Regions from separate parts of the Homo sapiens genome. Here region 2 is linked to region 1. The links are contacts of gene promoters, found by promoter capture Hi-C in blood cells and fetal thymus (Javierre and others, 2016). All regions are on one chromosome and are shown on one strand. Each heading gives the region's core, a stretch centred on a gene start or on the middle of the fragment in contact. The rest is flanking DNA. Distances are from core to core; before and after follow the strand shown. Region 1 holds the start of OR10W1 (olfactory receptor family 10 subfamily W member 1). Region 2 overlaps LOC105369313 (a long non-coding RNA gene).

Evidence for each region. Contacts are between HindIII fragments. The CHiCAGO score rates a contact against its expected background, and 5 or more counts as called.
Region 2: a contact is called between a fragment that was not itself captured here and the fragment with the promoter of OR10W1 in region 1, in 1 of 17 cell types (endothelial precursors). The highest score is 5.8, in endothelial precursors.

Annotation. Positions count from the first base shown.
Region 1 is chr11:58,264,850-58,269,792 of GRCh38, reverse strand. OR10W1 (olfactory receptor family 10 subfamily W member 1) reads left to right here and starts at 1,533. Exons shown (of 1, transcript NM_207374.3): 1 at 1,533-3,001. The coding sequence starts at 1,935. The coding sequence ends at 2,852. The HindIII fragment of the contact is 7,272 bases long and covers 1-3,236 here.
Region 2 is chr11:58,502,414-58,506,998 of GRCh38, reverse strand. It overlaps LOC105369313 (a long non-coding RNA gene), which reads left to right. Exons shown (of 5, transcript XR_007062673.1): 3 at 1,457-1,530. It overlaps OR5B21 (olfactory receptor family 5 subfamily B member 21), which reads left to right. Exons shown (of 1, transcript NM_001005218.3): 1 at 1-192. Among named protein-coding and RNA genes, the nearest start is that of OR5B21, 3.4 kb to the left of the region's middle. The HindIII fragment of the contact is 3,170 bases long and covers 38-3,207 here.

The sequences.
Region 1 (4,943 bases), core at 284-2,783:
CCTTTAGATGTGTGCCTGTTGTAGACTTCCATATGCTATGTTCTTGAATGATAGAATTATTTCCACAGTGCAGCCCAAATCTTAGATACGAAGTTGTTTTATATAAGGACTCCTAAACAAGTGATTTGATTATGAATAATCTTAAATCTTTCATTGCACGGCAAAGTGAAAGTAGAAAATGAAGAAAATGTATAAATAACATTTTCAAGCTGTATTATCCATTCGACATATAATTATTGAGTGTCTAAAATTTGCACAACATTAGGCGTGCTTATATGGGATGATCAAAATGTAAATAAAGCAGAATGGCTGCCCTTGAATTTATAAATAATAATGATGATTATCTTTTATTAGGTTGCCATTACTATGGACAGTTCATTGTGATATCTTACATTACTATTGCATTTAAACTTACAGCAATTCTTTTGTCTAAGTATAATTATTATTCCCATTTTTCAAATACAGAAATTGAGGCTTAGAGAAATTATATATTACCTAACATCATGAAGCCAGGAGCTGGAATTATTCAAACCACATCACTTCCCTTCACTGCTGATTTCACATTGATACACTGCCCCTCCTCCACATGATATAGTATAATGTGCAATATGCTAAGTGGCATTAGAAACCACTCAAAGCATTATTGAAGTTCAGCTCAGGAAAAGAGACCAACTGAAATAGATACCACTTGTTAGCTGTTGGAAAAACAGCAGAGAGCCATTTCTGCCCTAGGTGCTCTTAATATTTGTAGCTGCCTACTCATATTTTTCCCCATGCTTGTGACACTGAGGTGGGTTTGTGTGAATAATTTTTACTGGAAGTGGTGCCTCTGGGTAGAGATTTCTCTTCAAATCTCATATTCAATGACAGGAAATATTAAAATTTGGCACGTTGAAACAAGGCCACACATTACGTCTTTTCCACCTTATTTAATATGAGTTGGTCTGGGAAAAGAAGTGGAATGGATGCCCTTTGCAAATTACGTCTGTTTATTAAAAGGTTTTTGTGGAAAAGATATGGCTTCTCCCAGATTTCACATTAGCTTCTGAGAAATATGAAAAATAGATGGGCTTAGACTTTCATAATCATGCCCAAATTCACAGGAAGGCTTCTTAGATTTCCAACATCTTGGGATCACATATTTTCTCATACCTCCACCCACGCCAGGAGGAAACATATGATAAAACACCTTGTTTCCTTCAAGCCTTATACTTCTGGTCAGATAAGGATAGAAAAACCAATAGTAGACAGGGCTTTGCTTTCTGAGGCGTATCCCTGACACTGTCATACTCAGGCCTCTGTTAGCCCTTTGCTTCATGGGTAATTTTTTTTCTTTCTTCACTTCCCATCACTAGTTTTGAGAGTTACATTGACATATCACTTATTCAATACCCCAGGAGATATTGAGTGTAAATATTAGGTTGGTGCAAAAGTAATTGCAGTTTTTGCCATCAAAATGGCAAAACCGCAACTACTTTTGCACCAACCTAATAAATATGTGAATGAATAAGTGAATGAATAAATGGCTTATCTCCCTTACCTTAATGATTTCTAGCCCCAAGAATTCCTTGACACTTTCTTGTGAATTTGCTGAAAGAATTGAATTTTCATTCCACTCTTTCTGAAAATAGCTCCTGAATCCCACCCACTTCCTCTGCCATTTTTCTTCAATAGTATCTTACATAGTTTGGCCCAACTCTTGGCAGGTAGAAATTGAGGTGTAGATATTAATGTGGAGAAACTTGGTAAAAGTGGAGAAAAGAAAAAGAACTAGTCTTGATCCTTCCAGTTTCTAACTCCAGTGCTGATTACATTAGATTCATGGCTCAGAGTGTAACTTAATTTATCTTCAGTCTGATTCTTCCTTCTGTACTTGTAGCTCTCCACAGAGAAATACTGTTAGCTCAATTACCTGGGAAAATCACTCAGTGTTGATGGAATTTGTGTTCCTGGCCTATCCCTCCTGCCCAGAACTGCATATTCTGTCCTTCCTTGGGGTCAGCCTGGTTTATGGTTTGATCATCACTGGGAACATTCTCATTGTGGTGTCCATTCACACAGAAACCTGTCTATGCACATCCATGTACTATTTCCTGGGCAGCCTTTCTGGGATTGAAATATGCTACACTGCAGTGGTGGTGCCCCATATCCTGGCCAACACCCTACAGTCAGAGAAGACCATCACTCTCCTGGGCTGTGCCACCCAGATGGCTTTCTTCATTGCACTGGGCAGTGCTGATTGCTTCCTCTTGGCTGCCATGGCCTATGACCGCTATGTGGCCATTTGCCACCCGTTGCAGTACCCTCTCCTCATGACATTGACTCTTTGTGTCCACTTGGTTGTGGCATCAGTCATCAGTGGTCTGTTCCTGTCCTTACAACTGGTGGCCTTCATCTTCTCTCTGCCATTCTGCCAGGCTCAGGGCATTGAGCACTTCTTTTGTGATGTGCCACCAGTCATGCATGTTGTTTGTGCTCAGAGTCACATTCATGAGCAGTCAGTGCTGGTGGCAGCCATACTAGCCATTGCTGTGCCTTTCTTCCTCATCACCACCTCCTACACCTTCATAGTGGCTGCTCTGCTCAAGATCCACTCGGCTGCTGGCCGCCACCGGGCCTTCTCCACCTGCTCTTCCCACCTCACTGTGGTGCTGCTGCAGTATGGCTGCTGTGCCTTCATGTACCTGTGCCCCAGCTCCAGCTACAACCCCAAGCAAGATCGGTTCATCTCACTGGTGTACACATTGGGAACCCCACTGCTCAACCCACTTATCTATGCCCTGAGGAACAGTGAGATGAAAGGGGCCGTAGGGAGAGTTCTTACCAGGAACTGCCTTTCCCAGAACAGCTAGGAAAGACGAGGGGACAGCCTATCAGGCAAGTATTTGGTTCCAGCCCACCAAATCTGTATGAAACTGAGATTTCTATCATTTGGTGTTAAAACTCATCTAAAAGATGGTATAAATTATATGGATACTGTTTATGTGTGCCAAAGATTTTTAAATATTTCTACAATTTGACTCTGTAATTTCTCTTCTTGGAAAGAACTACATGAGCATAAAGTGATATAAAGTGGCAAGTATAATACTTTGTCCAGTTACCAGCTGAGAAGAGATAGCTCACTCAATAGATTTTTAACTAAAAAAATATTTAAAAAGGGTTATCTGCAGTGGTTATAGGTAAGGAAACCAATAAAATGTGGCAGAGCACTAACACGCTAGCAATAGCAGGAAGCTTTCTCAGCCCTAGACTTAAAAGGTGTGCCATAGAAGAAGGGTGCAACATTATCAGAGTCCAGTGACAGTTAGATCTAAGCAGATAAACCACTTGGTAGAAACTGTGGCATCAGAAATAAAAAGAAACTATGACAGAACTATGGCCATGCAAGGAAGAGACAGGGAGGCAAATACCCCAGCGTCTCTTTGCTCAAAATCTTCCATTTCTTGCCCTGTCTCCATGGACCAAACTCAACTGGCAGCAAGAAGGGAGGGGAGACTGGGTGAATCAGTCCACAGAAGTCAGTCTCCTAGGGCACAGGGAAAGGCAGACAAAAACCTAGAGAACCAGGGTCAAACAGAGAACAATCAGAACAAATTTGTTGTTTATTATAGCATCATACATAAAAATGAAAATAGGCCAGTTGCGGTGGCTCATGCCTATAATCCCAGGACTTTGGGAGGCTGAGGTGGGCAGATCATGAAGTTAAGAGTTTGAGACCAGCCTGGCCAACATGGTGAAACCCCATCTCTACTAAAAGTACAAAAATTAGCCTGGCATGGTGGCGTGTGCCTGTAATCCCAGCTACTTGAGGGGCTGAGGCAGGAGAACCGCTTGAATCCAGGAGGCGGAGGTTGCCGTGAGCTGAGATTGCGTCATTGCACTCCAGCCTAGGGGACAGAGCGAGACTCCCTCGGTCTCAAAAAAAAAAAGAAAAGAAAAGAAAAGAAAAGAAAAGAAAGAAATTAATCCACTTCTCCTATAATAAAGTATTGGTTAAACAATTACTATGTAAAAAGATATTATTCAGCCTCAAATTTATATTTTCAAATACTAGTTATTAGTAATAGATAATATTAAGTGCTTCCTGTGTGCCAGAAATACATATTCTATCAATCTTCAAAAAGCTCATTAAGACTATTATCTCTGTTTTTTATATAAATGGGAGAGTTCTCAGAAAACAGACCCTGACAGTGAAACCAATATAGTAGGTTCCACTTACCTGCAGGTTTACTTTCCACAGTTGCAGTTACCCGCGGTCAATGCAATATAAAAATATTAAATAGAAAATTCCAGAAATGAGCAATTTGTAAGTTTTAAATTGTGTCCTGTCCGGAGTAAAGTGTTGAAATTCCAAGCCATCCTGCTCTATCCCACCTGGGAAATGAATCGTCCCTCCCTTTGTTCAGCATATCCACATTGAATACACTACCCATCTGTTACTATGTATAGAGTTCAGTACTATCCACAGCTTCAGGCATCTACTGCAGGAGTCGTGGACTGTATCCCCCTTGGACAAGGTAAGGGGGGACTATTGTATCTGTACATAACTATGGATCAGGAAACCAGTCCTAGGGAACATAATTGAGCTGTAATAAAGGAAGATTCTCTGCTGCCAGAGTGGAGGATACCAATAATGTGCCAAATTGGATTCAAAATTGCTACGGAATAGTGACTGCATTGTGCCTCCTGTTTCTCACCCTTTTGAATGGAGGTGTCTATTCTCATGTAAATATGGAGTTGATGCTAAGTACAAGATCCTCAATTTTGAGCCTGGATTGTAAATTTTATCTTTAAGATTTGTTTTATGGCACAACATATGTTTCATTCTGACATCCCACGTGTGTCCTGTGGATGTTGAGTGAAATCCATTAAGTCAGGTTAGCGAATAGTGTGGTTCTAATCTTCAATATCTATGCATATTTTTATCTACTTGTCTTACCAAT
Region 2 (4,585 bases), core at 373-2,872, 240 kb before region 1:
TTATATTTAGTGAACAACAACATGGGACAGTTAAGCTTTTCTTGCTTTAGTTTCTTGACGTGGTTTAAAGCAGAAGATTGAAGCATACAAATGAATGTACCAAATTTTCCTCATCCTGTTTTTAATTGTAAGAATTTTTCATTCACTATTAAACTTGGTGTAAAGATTTCACCTTCATTTTTATCAACTGAACACACAGTATCTTTTTTATTCTTTTGTTCTGCGAGTTTGAAAGTTGGACTTTCTGAGGTAGACAAAGGATGTTTCAATATTTTAAATGATATTTGAGAGAAAGTTGTAATTTAAAGGACAAGGCACTAGATCGAGTCAGGTAGCTGACGATTAAATCTTTCCAACCCCTTACTCTCCCTTCTCTACCCACATTCCTATCCTACTCACTAGTCATGTGCCTTTGTAATTTCCATTCCCTTTTGCTAAATCATTGGGGAAACATTACACCTTGTTATATACAGAAATATGGGAATGCTTTAATAGATGAATTACTTCAACTTTAACCTGACTAAATACAACTTCCTTCGGAGAGCCTACACTATCTTTTATGTTTCTTGTCTCTGTCTAACATAATTACCAAAACTTCCAGAAGGTTTAGAGAAAAAAAGCAGTTTTCCCTAGAGCTATGAAAAAATATATTTGTTTTCTGAATTAAATGCTTGCATTTCTTAGCACCCTTAAGTTTGGTGAATCTATTATGAAGATATATAATAGCTTTCTGGACTGTCTTTGCTTTTACTTTTTCAATAATTCAGCTCACCTCTGGGTCTCCATTGCATTCCGGTGTTCTGTAATTAGATGCTACAAGAATAAAAAAGCCTGCCTGGAAATTTACTTCTTAGGAACAGCACGGTGACGCACAGTGCTAGTACACCTTCAGGTCTTGTTTCATGTGCTAGATGGTGTGAGCAAATGTGTGTGTGTGGGAAGGGAGTGGTGATTAATTTCACTTCTCACGTATCAACTCCTTGATGGTGTTTATAACTACAGTTAATCTAAGTCACCACAATAGATCATGATTTCAAAATCTCCCCAAAAAACCCAACAAATTAATTTTGACCTTATAGATGAAAACCAGAAATCTTGGTTGGCTAACTCAGTTGGCTTAAAATGTCAATTTAGTTTTCAGATTATCAAGCTCCATTATGTACAGGGCAGCCTCTGTCTGAGGAGGATAAATCATAAGTCTTCTGGGAAAAATTGCAAAGAAGGAGTTATGGAACATGAGAAACATGAGAATAGCTTTCTCTGGCACATGGTTGCCATCACCTGAAAAGATCAGGAGCTTCTGAGCCCAAGGCCTAGACAACCTATACCTCCCCCATTCAGCCCCCTCCCTCCCCTCTTCTTTAGCAATGAGGCCTATTCAGCAACACACAGGAAGAACAGCCTTTACAGGCCAGGATCCACTGCATATAGGAATCTTTCTCATTGAAATCTACAGAGCTCAAGAGTATCTGCATTTGGAGAAGAGCCTGGGAAGCAGCTATCCAAGCACTGGGTGCATTCCAATCTCAGGTACACATTTTCCCTACTTGATATAATTGACTTTTTTCCCTCCTCATCCTGCTCCTCCTTCTTTACTTCATTTTATCCTTCTCCTCTTTTTCTTTCCCAACTTCTTTCTATGCCCAGCCCAAGCAGGAACTTTCCTCACCACTAGGCCATTTAGATTTCTATAAAAAAATTAAAGTCTAGAGTCTATATATCATAACCATTACAGTATATATTAAGATGTGTATCTGGGCATGTTTATTTCTTTTATGGTTTTAATTTTTATTTCATTAGTTTTGGGGGTACAGGTTGTTTTTGGTTACATGGATAAGTCCTTTAGTGGTGGTTTCTGAGATTTTAATGTGCCCATCACCCGAGCAGTGTGCCCAATATATAGTCTTTTATTCCTCACCTCCCTCCCAACCTTCCCCCATCGAGACCCCAAAGTCCATTTTATCATTCTTATGGACATATTTTGTTATGCCTCTATACCTCAGTTTAGGCAGGAAAATGTGGGCCTCCTGAGATTTAAGGGCTCAATGTCTACATATTTATATTTTATGTTGAAATCACCTCAAACAAGTGTTCTATCTGACTGTAAATAGGTATAAAAGAGTACTATCAAAAGCTGGATGAAAATTCTAACTGTTCTTATCAATTGTGTGACCTCAAGAAAGTCATTTAGTCTTACTGAACCCAATATACAGGATAAAGTGTGAGGGTAATATGAAATTAAGTATGTGAATGTGCCCATCATAATGAATGTGTATTTCATACCATTGAGATTTCTATACTAGCTCTTTCTTCACTTAGCTCTCCCTGGACTTCTTATTTTGGCTCTTGAGCTGCCTGAGCAAAAATAGGAAGTCCAAGGACTGATAGGTGAAGCTCGTCCCATCCAAATCCTAGCTTTTATTTTCATTCCTTGTTTAACTTCCTGCCCTCCAAGTTCCCAGCTCTACAGCAGACATATTTCAAGCTGACATTACACGGGTATTCATTTATAGAAACTACTCAGAAGGAGATGTCCTGTCGCCAGCAAGACATCAATTCACAGAGTATACGTTACTGCAAGGAGCTCTTCCCTTCCACATAGGAAATCTGTCAAATGGAGACTAAATGCCCATTTGGTTAATAACAACACCCACTTGCTCCCTGCAGGAATTGTCTGATGAATGAGAGACCTTGTGCGTAGGGCCTGCCGCTCAATGCAGTGCAATAAAGGCACAGGGACTTCCTACCTGAAATGTTCAAAAAAGAATGTGAAAATTCATAAATCAGGGCAGTTATTTATATCAGGATAGATTATTCTTTCAAAAATGGATTATGATTGAATTATTCTAAATAGGATGTTCCCTTTGTGCATTAAAGCATTTGTTGAGGTTTATGTATTGGGAGTGGAAAATTAAAATATTAAATTCCTTGGCAATTGAAGCTGGAATTGCGGAGTCATAGACTCTTTAGCCAAAAGCTGAAAGAATTTAAAACTAATCTAAACCAATCCTCTCATTTCACAATTAAAAACCCCGATTTTTACAGTTTAACTTGCTTAAACTCACAAAGAACCAAATCTTGTTTGACCCTTTTTTATATTTTATAAAGTACTTGTGGTATAAAAAGAAATTTTATACTTTTACCTTCATTTATTCACCATGATATAGTTATTTGTGCTTCAGTTTTGCAGTGGAGGAAACCAAAGCTTTGAGAAGTTAACTTACCTGTCTACTGTTAAAAAGAGGAACCGAGGTGTGAAACTGAGTTTTTGCCTTCCCTGACCAAGACTCTGAAAAAATAAGTCACCAAGTACGTTAGTAAATTTCAATGGAGGTCTTACTTAATGTGTAACTCACTTACACTCTTCCATAATGAGTCCTTGCCATGTGGAAGGCACTCTGAAGAATACAAATAAGACTGTAAGATGTAATTCCTACTTCCACAAAGTAAAGCCCCCTGCATATATGTTTACTGATGTAATGCACCTTAAGGTTAATGACTCAATGTTCAGTAACTACCAGCAGGAATTTTCCCAGTATTCCACAGAGCATGAATGGATCAGGGCATATTTGTTTTCAGTCTTGATAGAGTTGGCTCTTTGAGTGCCGCAGCCGACAGTGATAGCCCAGCCTCAGCCAATGTTAACTAGACACAAGCTGCAGAAAAGGCATGGTGTGAAGTTGATGAAGAAACCAGTTGATATTCAATATTGTTCCTGCTTCAGGAGCAACTTACAAATAACGTGGTGGAACAGAGGACATACGTCTAGGTAGATGATAGTTCAAAGACATTTGTGGCCATTATCAAATGAATAGTCTAGAAAATAATAATTAGAACTCATCAGGGACAAGAAAGAATCCTATGGGCAGGGGAAGATCCTCAGAGGATGTGGGATGTGAGCCAAGCTCTGAAGGAATAATGTAGATGGAACCCAGAATTCCAAGATTCCAACCTTACTTTCTAGTCAAAACTCTACCAATTGCCAGTGGTGAAGCTGGTATAAGCCACGTATCTCTGAGCCAATTTTCTTATCATCAAAGTGAAGACAATAGCACCAGCCATACCTTCCTTAGGGCGTTTTGCAGGCTAAATGAGATAGTGGGTGAGAAAGCATCTTCAGAATTGCTACCCTCTTTTGAACTATAGTGTTGCTGTTGGTAATAACATAAGCAGAGCTGAATGGGGAGTTCCTAAGCAACCATCTGAACTCGGGTATGGAGGTGGGATTGCACATGGCATGTTGGCAGGAGCTTGTAGGAAAGTTGGTCATTCAGATTAGAAGAGGGTCAACCACTAATGCCTCAGTCCGTTACTTTTACAGGCAATTGAAACTTGTTGTCATCAAACAAGGTGAAGAGACTGGGCCTTTGAGAATAATTGCATCTCTATAGAGAAATCATGCTTTTACAGAAAAATTTCTGTAGGATCTCACCTATCAGGTATCTAGATCCAAGCCTGAGAATTCTCCCTCCTGTTCATAACATGGAATTTCTCAGTTGTTAGCCTGTGATTATTTCACAAAATGTGTGGGGGGAGGGATAAGATATTTGTAGCATATTTAATTAGGAAAAAAAGTTATTGTATA